Regions from separate parts of the Homo sapiens genome. Here all the other regions are linked to region 1. Evidence: promoter capture Hi-C in 16 types of primary human blood cells and fetal thymus (Javierre and others, 2016). All regions are on one chromosome and are shown on one strand. The core of a region is centred on a gene start or on the middle of the fragment in contact, and the rest is flanking DNA. Distances in the headings are between cores, read along the strand shown. Region 1 holds the start of PRXL2A (peroxiredoxin like 2A). Region 2 overlaps TSPAN14 (tetraspanin 14). Region 3 overlaps TSPAN14 (tetraspanin 14).

The links. Contacts are between HindIII fragments. The CHiCAGO score rates a contact against its expected background, and 5 or more counts as called.
Region 2: a contact is called between a fragment that was not itself captured here and the fragment with the promoter of PRXL2A in region 1, in 4 of 17 cell types (M0 macrophages, M1 macrophages, fetal thymus and 1 more). The highest score is 5.9, in M0 macrophages.
Region 3: a contact is called between a fragment that was not itself captured here and the fragment with the promoter of PRXL2A in region 1, in 13 of 17 cell types (M2 macrophages, monocytes, naive CD8 T cells and 10 more). The highest score is 8.2, in M2 macrophages.

What each region holds. Positions count from the first base shown.
Region 1 is chr10:80,407,006-80,410,881 of GRCh38, reverse strand. It overlaps PRXL2A (peroxiredoxin like 2A), which reads right to left and starts at 2,331. Exons shown (of 6, transcript NM_032333.5): 1 at 2,239-2,331. RefSeq lists enhancers at 38-537, 1,384-1,977 and a silencer at 2,263-2,552. The HindIII fragment of the contact is 7,614 bases long and covers 1-3,876 here.
Region 2 is chr10:80,492,530-80,496,531 of GRCh38, reverse strand. All of the region lies in intron 2 of TSPAN14 (tetraspanin 14), which reads right to left. Among named protein-coding and RNA genes, the nearest start is that of TSPAN14, 40 kb to the right of the region's middle. The HindIII fragment of the contact is 8,190 bases long and covers 1-4,002 here.
Region 3 is chr10:80,512,018-80,515,782 of GRCh38, reverse strand. TSPAN14 (tetraspanin 14) reads right to left here. Exons shown (of 9, transcript NM_030927.4): 6 at 3,514-3,639; 7 at 1,720-1,764. Among named protein-coding and RNA genes, the nearest start is that of TSPAN14-AS1, 22 kb to the left of the region's middle. The HindIII fragment of the contact is 4,105 bases long and covers 1-3,461 here.

The sequences.
Region 1 (3,876 bases), core at 1,082-3,581:
TCAAGCTGTAGGGCCCCCCACCCCTCAAAGAGCAAGCCATTCTAATCTCACTTGCACAGCCTCCTGTCTGGGCTCAGAACTCCGGCTTCATCAAGTTATATGGGTGTGGATAGGAAGGCAAGGCAATACCACAGAAGACACTGGGCTAAAAGCCAATAATCCTGGGTTTTCTCTCTTTGACTCTGAGAGTTATTTTATCCCTCTGAACCTCAGTGTCTTCTTAAAAACAAGGGCACTTTAAAGAGTTGTCATAAAGATTATATAAGAAGAGCAATTTTTAATGCGGTAACGCACTAGAAAACGGCAAAGCAGCATTATCTTTCTCTCTTTTGCAGGGCTCAGATTCACTCGTGCCCCTATAAAGACAGGATATCTGAAGCAGGACAGGCACAAAATAGTGAACTTCTGCAGCTGTGTCACTGCAGGCCTGCTTTCTGGTGAACGTTCTAGGTCTGGTGGGAACACTGGCTTGTCTCAGCCCCTCTGGCCTGCAGGCCCGCTCCATGCTATTCCTGTAGCAGCTAACACTGCCTCCTGCACTAGCAGTGCCAGAGAAGGCAAAGGACACTGCCCAGCTGTAATTTCCCTGTGCCAGAGGCCACTGAGCTCAAAGGTGAGGCTGGCTCTCTGCACAGAACCTCAGGATGGTTCTTGCCACACAAGCCACAGCAGAGAGACTTGGAGCTTCTGCTCAACATTTCACAAAGAAGCAAGAACCCAACTGGCAGGACAGCTGCCCTATTGCTTAGATAGGGACAGAGCCTGGGGCTTGAGCCCTAGAGTTCCAGTCCTATCCAAACTTTCTGAGCACCATTTAAATGACACGAGATGAGAAAATCATCAGAAATGTCTTTTGTACCCCTTCAGAAGTAATGCAGAAGGTCTCAACTAAATGACATGCTCTTATAAAAGACGGGGATATAGGAAAGGCCCACACCAAGAATAATATCTAACTTTAATTCTTGCAAGCTGTATAAACCTGGACAAGGAACTGTTTTGCATCAGTAAAATGGGAATGCTTCCTTAATTACCTTCTACAGAGTTGCAAGAATCAAAGGATTAAATGTATAGGAGGTGCCTTGTGAGGTACCTTACAAAAAGTGCAATAAATACGATGTATAATTCTTCATTTCTAGAGCAATGATTACCCTCAAAACGTTATTTGTACACAAAATGAAGAGTTTTCTGATGAATGAGTATGGTAACGAGTCGGGGTCTGCAGTGGAAATCCCAATCCTCATTCTCCAAAGCTGGGCCCGAGCAGGAGCATTCAAGACTATTCAAGCTGACTTTTTCACAATGCTTTTCAAAACAAATCTTGATTATTTTCTTTTTGAAAAACCACCTGCCAGGTTCAAAGGAAAATACATTAAAATAAAACAAACAAAAAAGCTGAGTTCTGGGTTGCTGGGCTGTGCAGACAGCATGATGTGGCAAGGAAAAGAGGCGCAGGAGCAGCTGGGAACCCCGGTCCGGCAGTGGACTCCCGGGTGTGCCTCCTTCCCACAGCCCTGGACCGGCTGGGCCTTGACTTCCCTTCCTTTGCCTCTAACCATCTCCACCTGCGCCTTCACCTCCCGCTCCAGCAACAACCCTGGGGGCAGATTGTTCATCTTTTCATTCCTAGACCTCAGCAGGGCTGTTAAGTTTACAACTGGGCTCTACCCAATTTAAAGTCAGGCGTTTGTGACTCTTGGGAAAGAGGGGGAACAGGTGCCTCCGAAACGCTGAACAACGCTAGAAACCGTGCCCTCTTAAAAGACACGACCCTAAGCGGGCACAGAGACGAGGACGAGGACTGCCAGGTCCGCACCTGGGGCTGGTCCAGCAGGGCGGCCCCCGGGCCCATGCTCCAGGGCAGGGCCCTCTCCTCTGTTCTTTGTCCCAACAATTCGCGAAGGTTGGCGCCACCGGCGTCACTCAAGGCTTGCGGGCGTGGACAGAGGGGGCCCTAGCCCGCCGCAGCAGCGCCGGGTCCCCGTCTCCGTTCTCCGACGTCTGGGCGCAGGGTTTTTCCATCGGCCGCCACGCAGGGTGGCGGAAGGGTCGTCGTCCTCGGAGGGAGCGCCAGCGCTGCGGCGGCTCCTAAGAAAGTTGGCGCGGGCCCGAGGGGCGCGCCTCACCAGCCCAGCACCCACCCTACCGGCCCTGCACTGCCTCAGTTTCCCCACCTACGCCGCGGCAGGCCCCGCCTACGGACATCACGTGCCTCGCGGAGCCCCGGCGCGCAGCACCTACCTCAAGTGCCTCCCTTCTGCCGGCCTTTTACCGCCCCGACGCCCGGGCGCTAAGGGGCCAAACCGCCCGGCCCGGAGGGTCCCAGGGGCGGGCCCCGCGCTTGCGCAGCCTCTAGCCTGTGCTGCATCGCGCGCTACCGCGCCACCGCCATGTGACCCGCCCCGCCCCCCGTGGGAGGAGCTCCGGGCCTGCCCCCGACTCGCCGACCTCCGGGCCGCGGTCTCCTAGCTCCGGTGGCGCTCGGGCGTGTGCCCCAGCGGTCCTTTTACGCACAGCGCTCGGTCGGTCCACTCCTCAAGTCCGCGAACCGAGGCCCCGACGCGTTCTTCAGGGCGCTGCCTAGGGCAAAAGAAGGCGCTGGACACCCCTAATGGAGCCTGGAAGCACCTGTCCTGCAGCCGAGGCTGGCCAACTTCCTTCCAATCTTCAGCCTGGTTTTGAATAGCTCTTTTGATAGGTTTTTTTTTTTTTTTTAACCTCCATGGGCAGGGGGAATCTAAAGGACCGACACATTCGATGAGCCCCTTCAAGCTGTATGTACAGATTCAGAATTTCCAACCTCAATCCTCCACCCACGTTCCCTTTCACTCCACAATGCCAGCTATGGGGCAGAGAACGGTGAGCCGCAGCCTTGCGGACTCCGGGCGACGCTGAGGCGGGTGTGTCACACACCGCTCATCCACTTACTCCTCCTGTTGGAAGTGCCCACTCTTTCATGAAAGTAGGAGGTTGTGTCCGGCGCGCTGGCTCACGCCTGTAATCTCAGGGCTTTGGGAGGATCGCTTGAGCCCAGGAGTTCAAGACCAGTCTGGGCACCATAGTAAGACTCCATCTCTACGTAAAAAACAAAAACTAGCCAGGCATAGTGGCGCGTGCCTGTATTTCCAGCTACTCTGGAGCTGAGGTGGGAGGATCGCTTGAACCCGGGAGGCGGAGGTTGCAGTGAGCCCAGATCGCGCCACTGCACTCCAGCCTGTCTTTAAAAAACAAAAAAAAGACCCTGTCTTAACAACAAAAAACAAAAAGTAGGAGGTTGGACTTTCAGAGACAGCAGAGCTGACTCACGATACATATTAGTGGTTGGCCGGGCTCGGTGTCTCATGCCTGTAATCCCAACACTTTGGGAAGCCAAGGCGGGCAGATCACTTGAGGGCAGGAGTTCGAGACCAGCCTGACCAACATGGCAAAACCTCGTCTCTACTAAAAATACAAAAATTAGCCGGGTGTGGTGGCGCGCACCCGTAGTCCCAGCTACTCAAGAGGCTGAGGCAGGAGAATAGCTTGAACCCCGGAGGTGGAGGTTGCAGTGAGCCGAGATGGTGCCACTACACTCCAGCCTGGGTGACAGAGTGAGATTCCGTCTCAAAAAAAAAAAAAAAAGACATATCGGTGACACAGTGCAAAGACCAGTCACAGGGCAGCATAAGGTGAAGTGGCAAAGCAGGCCGATGTCCGCCCGTCAAAGGTGGTCATTTGCCTGCAACACCTTCCCCCCTTCATCTGGGAGCTGCCCACAGGTGTACAAAGTCCAAAGGCTTCCGTGATTCACCTCCCTGACTTCCCACTCAGACTCCATGTTCCATGTAAACTTACAGCAACACTTGGGGAGCTTGATCTATTCAAGGGGGTCTCTCCTCA
Region 2 (4,002 bases), core at 129-2,628, 87 kb before region 1:
AACTATAAACCCACAAATCTCAAAGGCCCAATGAACCCCAAACAGAATAAACACAAAGACAACTATACCAGCATGTATAAAATTGCTATAATCCAGAATAAAAGGAGAAACTCTTGAAGTCAGCCTGGAGGTGGGAGGAGACACAGTTCATAGAGTATGCATATGCGAACTATTTTTACCAAATCAAGTGAAAACATATCAAAATGTGTGGGATGCAGAAAATGTACAGCTTCAAATATTTATATTAGGAAAAAAATCTAAAAATCAGTGATCTAATCTTCCAGTTTAAGTAGCTAAGAAAAAGCAAAATAATCCCAAGTAGAAAGGAAAAAATAATAAAAATAAGAACACCAATCAAGGTGAATGTGAATGTACTTAACGCCAATGAACTATACACTTAAATGGTTTTAATAACAAATGTTCTGTTACGTATATTGTACAATTAAAAAATAAGAAATTATTTCAAAAGATTTTTAAAAAGTAATTAAAAACAGAAAAACAACAGAGACACTACCACCTAACTAAAAAAAAGTCAGATACCAAAGAGTTTAATTTATAGCAACAGGAGGCAGAACAACCATCACCCAGGGAAGGGGTAGGGTGGGGCAGGCATGACTGTAGGGGCACAAGGAAAGTTTCTGGGGTGATGGGAATGTTTTATATCTTCATTGTGATGATGGTGATTATGTGGCATGTACAGCTGTCACTGAACTGTACAGTTGAAATGAATAAATGTTATTCTATCTAAATCAGACATCAACAGAAGTGATCATTATAAAAAGGATTTCCATTAAAGAAAAAAAGTACAAACAAGAAAAATCACTCCTGTAGACTATGCCATGCTGATTATTTACCAGCCAAGGAGGCAGAGTTATACAAGCACACCAAACTACTTAAGACTTGAAAGTACGTGCAAGCATTTAACAGTCCTGTGTGCCAGGCAATAATCTCAGAGCACCTTGAACATCCCTTCCTCAGTAATCCCAACTGGTGGTCCCAGCCTCACACTTGCCTAAGTTGGGGAAATCAGGGGCTGAGGCCATGCAGGCATCAGCACCACAGGCCACTCCTTAAGTTCTAGTGGAGTTTCTGATTAAGCAATCCCTGCCCTCTGCCTTGGCAAGCCTAAATGATGAAATACACACATGTACATACACACACACACACACACACACACACACACACACACACACACAGTGCCAAAAGACAGTCAACTTCCTATGAATTGGGGCAGTCGTTCTGGGGATGTGATTTTGACTGTATGTTCAGGCAGGTCAAAACAATGTACACACCTTGTGACCCAATTAATCTCTCCTGGGAATCTATCTCAGCAAATAATTTCCCTCCCTTCCCTAAAGGGAAGAATGCGTATTACATAAACTAATCACTGCATCCTTATCTAGGATAGCAAAAAAATTGGAAACAACCTAAATGTCCAATATGGGAATTTCTAAAAATACAATTGGAAAGATAATGTTGCAACCTGGAATGTTCTATATTAGTAGATGTTCTATATTAGCAGATGCTGATGTGAAAATGCGTATCTTAAGACTGCAAGGATACTACTCACAGGATATGAAACTGTGTGCCTGCAGACAGGACGCTGGGGCATGGAAGAGGAAATGCAGTAAACCTGGGATGCCTTGTTTAGCCTTTATGAATTTCCACGAAATTACAAAAGTTGATTAAATACTACCTGAAGAGAAAAAGGGACATCTTCCCAGCAGTGAAAACAAAAATACACTATATACATTATTAAAACACTAGACTTTTCCCTTTTGACTGCATTACTGAGATGGAAATGAAGAAATCATTTGTCTGAAGATCTAGGGATCAGGCCTTGGGGTCTGATATCAAAGGAGCAGAGTTCAGCTCAAATAAGGGCAATTTTCCATCAGTCAGAAGAGCCCAGGAACAGCAGACTATCCTGGGAGGTGGCAAGTCCTCTATAAAGAGGAGCATAATAAAAGTCAGAGGAAGAGAATAAGACCCCACCTGCAAAGATGCCCTACACAGAGGTAAGGGAAGAGAGTTGATCTTTCCACCTTGGGCTTGTCTTCCCTTTCTTGTGCAGGGTGGCCACATGCCCAGGTTTGCACAGGAGAGGCCTGGGGTACACCTGTTGTTCTGGCAAAATTCGCAAGACTCTCTCAAAATTCTCTTACTGTCAAAAGTTGAACCACAGATTACATGTTCGCCCTACTCACAGGAGGCATCTGTGACTTTGAAGGAATAGGCCTTAAGCCATGCTGGTCACAGAGCACAGATGTCCATGGCTCTCATCTCACTCAGAAACAGGCTGCGCAGAGGTGAATTCACACATTTTACAAGGGTAGGCTCAAACAGACCCAAGTCACTGAGAAAGCCAATGGCAGAATGTCATTTAAAAAAAATTTTTTTAAACTAAAGGCAAGCAAAGGACTTTCCTGTGTAACACAGGCCTACAGTCTATTTAGAAAGGGTCTCAGTTCTTCACTTTTAATCCATCTCTGAAGCAGATCCAGGCAAGGACTTCATCCAACCTCTGCATGCAGATTAAAGCCAATGCTTGTGTTGGAAACCAACCCTGGAGTTGCAGACATTATCGGAATCATCCCTCTAGAGGATTCACTCGGCAAACTTAGAAAAGTCCAAGTGCTTTGTGGAACCAGTGGGGGGTATAAATGAACAAAGACAAAGAGCCAGATGCCACTCCTCCAGTGTACGCCTCTCCCAGCTTCCCTTCCTCTGCACATCAAAGTGAGATCTTCTGTACCCACTAACCAACAACTCCCCAATCTTCCCTTCCCGGGCTCCTAGCAACCAACATTCTACTTCCTGTCTCTATGATTCTGACTACTGTGGGCACCTCATATAAGTGGAATTATACAGTGTTTGTCTTTTTGCATCTAGCTTATCTCACTCAGCACTATGTACTCAAGGTTTACCCATGCTGTAGCATGTGACAGAACTGCCTTCCTTTTTAAGCTCTTTCACATCTGTATATCACATTTGGTTATCCACTCAATCATCTATGGACACTTTGGTTGTTTCTACCTTTTGGCAACTGTAAATAATGCTGCTATGAATGTGCACATAGGTGTACAAATATCTCTTCGAGATCCTGCTTTCAGCTCTATTGGTTATACCCAGAAGTGGAATTGTTGGATCATACGGTAATTCTATTTTTAACTTTTGTGGAACTACCATACTGTTTACCATAGCAATTGCACCATTTTACATTTTCACTAACAGTGCACAAAGGTTTCAATTTCTCCACATCCTCATCAACATCGGTTATTTTCCATTTTTTAAAATAATAGCCATCCCAATGGGTGTGAAGTGGTATCTCATTGTGGTTTTGATTTGCATTTCCTAAGTCAAAGTGAGATTTTTGCACTAAAAACAGGTCTAGCACAACCAAAGAATGATTTTTTCAGTAAGTAAAAAACACTAGCGCTCTCAAAAAGCCATGTTGCATGGAAGCATATTTTCCCTAACATCCTTGTGATAAGAACCTCATGAAGCCCATTCCATTCTCATTCTGTAAACCAAGAGGTTCAGAACAGACATGCAAACATCAGTGGCATCCACATTTCTTATCCCAAGCAGGTTTTAACAATCCCGGGAAAACCTTGGCCCCAAAGTCAGAAAGAGAGCTTAAAAAAATCTATTAGGTACCAAACGGTATTTATCTATAAAGAATGCTATTGTGAAAATAAGTCTTTTTTTTTTTTGAGACTGAGTCTCGCTCTGTCGCCCAGGCTGGAGTGCAGTGGCGCGATCTTGGCTCACTGCAAGCTCCGCCTCCCGGGTTCACGCCATTCTCCTGCCTCAGCCTCCTGAGTAGCTGGGGCTACAGGTGCCCACCACCACGCCCGGCTAATTTTTTGTATTTTTAGTAGAGACGGAGTTTCACCGTGTTAGCCAGGATGGTCTTGATCTCCTGACCTCGTGATCCGCCTGCCTCGGCCTCCCAAAGTGCTGGGATTACAGATGTGAGCCACCGCGCCAGGCCTGTGA
Region 3 (3,765 bases), core at 160-2,659, 110 kb before region 1:
CAGTAAGCTCAGCTCCAGGAGACAGAGCCAGCAGGCAACAGTCGCCAGCCAACCAGCTCCCTCCACTGCTAACCCCGGTGGGGTGTCAGTAACCATCCCAGCACACACCCCAGCCCTGCCCACCCCACACAGGGCAATCGGCCCCAGCCCCCTCACACCTATCAGCCTCCTCCATGGCAACATGATGGAGTATTAGCCCCTAATTTTAGAGGTGTTAGGAGCTAAATTGTGTCCTCAAAATCCATACACTGAAGTCCTAACCCCCAGGACTTCAGAAGGTGACTGTATTTGTAGACAGGCTCTTTACAGAGGTAATTATGCTAAAATGAGGCCATCAGGGTGCCCCCTAATCCAATATGAAGAGCATCCTGCTAAGAGGAGGAGATCAGGACACAGACATGCACAGAGGGGAGCCCACGTGAGGACACAGGGAGAGGACAGCCACCTGCAGCCAGGAGAGAGGCCTGGAACAGACCCTTCCATCACAGCCCTCTGAAGGCACCCACCTCACCTCGCCAGCACCTTGATCTTGGACTTCTAGCCTCCAAACTGTGAGAAAATAAATGCCTGCTGTGGCTTAAATTTCTGTCTGTGGTATGTTGTGACAGCAGCCTTAGCAAATTAATATAAGTGGCAAAAAAAATCATAATTAGGGAAGCTGATGTTGATATAGGTTCTTATCTTAGTCCATTCAGGCAACTAGAATAAAATACTATAGATTAGGTGGCTTATAAACAACAGAAATTTATTTCTCACAGTCCTGGAGGCCGGGAAGTTCAAGATCAGGACACTGGCAAATTCAGTGTCGGATGAGGGCCCACTTTCTGGTTCATGGATGGCACCCTCTCACTGTGTCTTCACACAGTGGAGTGACAAATAAGCTCTCTGGGCCTCTTACATAAGGACACTCATCCCACTCATAAGGACTCTGCCCTCATGACCCAATCCCCTCCCCAAGACCCCACCTCTTAAATACCATCACATTGGAGTTTAAGTTCCAACATGTGAATTTTGGAGAGACACACACATTCAGTTTACAGCACTTTCTCCCTGTGAAATGCAGGTCCCTAAAGGAGGACAGTTCCCCAAGCTGTAGGGACACATCCCTCATATCCACGGCTAACAGGTGGGGTCTCTGAAGATTCCTCGAGACTCCTCCCTTTTAGAACAGCAGTCATTCATATCACCAAAGACCACTAGAACAAGGACTGGAGTGGGGTGGGGTCTTCCTTCTCTTTGCATCTAAGAGCACACTCCCTACAGCCTAAAGGAAGTCCTGGAGGACAGAGCCTCGCCCCTGCCCCAGGCCTGCCTCCCTCTTTGTCACTACTGCCTCCACACGGAGGCCAGAACAAGGCACCTACACTCCTGCAGCTGTCCCCTTAACGAGAGACGTCTTCTGGGATGCCAAGGAGCCTCCTAAAAATGCAGTCTTTGTCCCTCAAAACTTCCATCCCACCTCTTTAAATGCAGCAACTCCTAGATGTTGGGACTGCAGCTCACAAGGCTTAGAATCACCATTACTGCTCCCAGGAGTCCTGCCGCCAGCTCAGGAAGCAGTGTATGTGACCCTGTGCCTATGCTCAGCTTAGGTGGCATCAAGAGCTTCACTGCCCTGAGTTTTCCCACTTCAATTTGCACTCGTGCTAAATCAGAATGTTGAACCACAGGGAATAAAACCTAAAGAACTCTTCAAGTTGTATACATGGGAGTTCTCACCTGAATCCTGACATCATATCCACACTGTGTGTTCACAACTTTTTGCTGCAAGAAAAGCAGAAAAATTAGTTGCTTCTGGCGTCTCAAGAAGCTGGTGCTAAGAGGCTCTAGTAAAGTCACAACCAAACACTAGCAAACATTTGTGCAAATTCCATTACAGCTCATGTCCTTCAATCATGCCACCAACTAATCCTTCAGACCAGGACAGGGTGGCAAACTTTCTCTGTGAAGGGCTAGAGAGTGAGTACTTCAGACACAGACTCAATTCCGCTTTTGTTGCATGAGAGCCGGCACTGACAATCTGTAAACAAACAGGAATGGCTGTATTTCAAGAAAACTTTATGGACACTGAAATTTGAATTTCATATAATTTTCACGTACCACAAAATATTATTCTTCTTTTGATTTATTTCCAACCATTTAAAAACATCTGAATGCATTCTTAACTCACAGGTCATGGAAAAATAGCAAGCCAGATTTGGCCTGGGGGCCACAGTTTGCTAGGAGGTAAGACCTATACTTGGAGGTAAGAACTATATGTGCTAAAAGCAACACTTACAAGACTGGTACATTTCACAGTCGCAGTGGAGACCTCAGAAGAGCTGTGCAGCTTCAGCAAATCTGAGCCTCTCCTGGGCTGCAGAACTTGCCCATATAATAGTGGTGATGCTCTGCCTTCTCAAAGCCTGTAACCCAGGACCAGGCTTTGCATAACTGCACCGAGAGCTGGCAACTGGCCCAGTTCTACTCAGGCTCAGTTCAGGCAAAATTCAGAGCTCCTTCACAGTTCACCCCAAGAACCCAGCTTCTGGAACCCAAGGACGTTGGCCTTGGATTGGGAATGCCAATAGGTAAAGAAAGGACAGGACAGGCACAGCGGCCCACACCTGTAATCCCAGCACTTTGGGAGGCTAAGATGGGCAGATCGCTTTGAGCCCAGGAGTTTAAGACCAGCCGGGGCAACATGGTGAAACCCCATCTCTACAAAAAATACAAAAATTAGCCAGGTGTGGTGCTCAAGCCTGTGGTCCCAGCTACTTGGGAGGTTGAGGCTGGAGAATTGCTTGAGCCCGGGGAAGCAATGGTTGTACAGTGAGCTGAGATCGCACCACTGCACTCCAGCCTGAGTGACAGAGTGAGACACTGTCTCTAAAATAAAACCAAACAACAACAACAACAACAACAACAACAAACAGAAAATAATTAGCCGGGTGTGGTGGCGTGCACCTGTAATCCCAGCTACTCAGGAGGCTGAGGCAGGAGAATCGCTTGAACCCAGGAGACAGAGGTTCCAGTGAGCCAAGATCATGCCACTACACTCCAGCCTGGGCGACACAGCAAGACCCTGTCTCAAAAATAAAAGAAAGAGAAAAAGAAAGAAAATAATTCTCCACTACTGTTCCCCAGTTAATGATGTGTACCCACAGCCCCCGTGCACTGTTGAGTTCTAGGAATCTGCTCCAGAAAAAGGACAGGGAAGAGGGATAAGCGGGCCTTATTTCACTCATAGCTCTTGGCCAGCTGCAAGTGACAGCCCTCCAGGTAGAAATAATACTGTTTTTCTCCTGCCTCACCCAGAACACCAAGGCCAGGGTGGGTCATGCAAGCAGTGTTCCTAGAATGTACACATATCGGATTTCAGAGCTGAGGCAGCCTTGAGGAGGGTGTGGAGAAAGCACACCTGCTCCTCAGACCTCCATGACAGAGAAGTATCCTAGAGCACTGGAGGAGTCAGGAAAGCTTCTGGGCTTCAGGAAGGGCGGGCTCCCTGTGCCCCAGCACAAGCCAACTCACCGCAGGATCTGGCACGCAGCAGGAGAAGGGGACCCCGCACTTCTCTCGGCTGTAGCTGGCACCGCTGCAATTGAAGTAGACGTTGAGGTCCCAGTCTTCAGGGCCATATGCGCCACAGCACTGGTTCTGCAACCACAAAAGCCAGAACTGTTAGGGGCTCCAAGACAGGGCCATGGCTGCCCAGCATAGGGCATCATTCATAGTGATGCCAGGCTAAGTCTGCCGGCATCTACCATGCAGAGAAATCAAGGC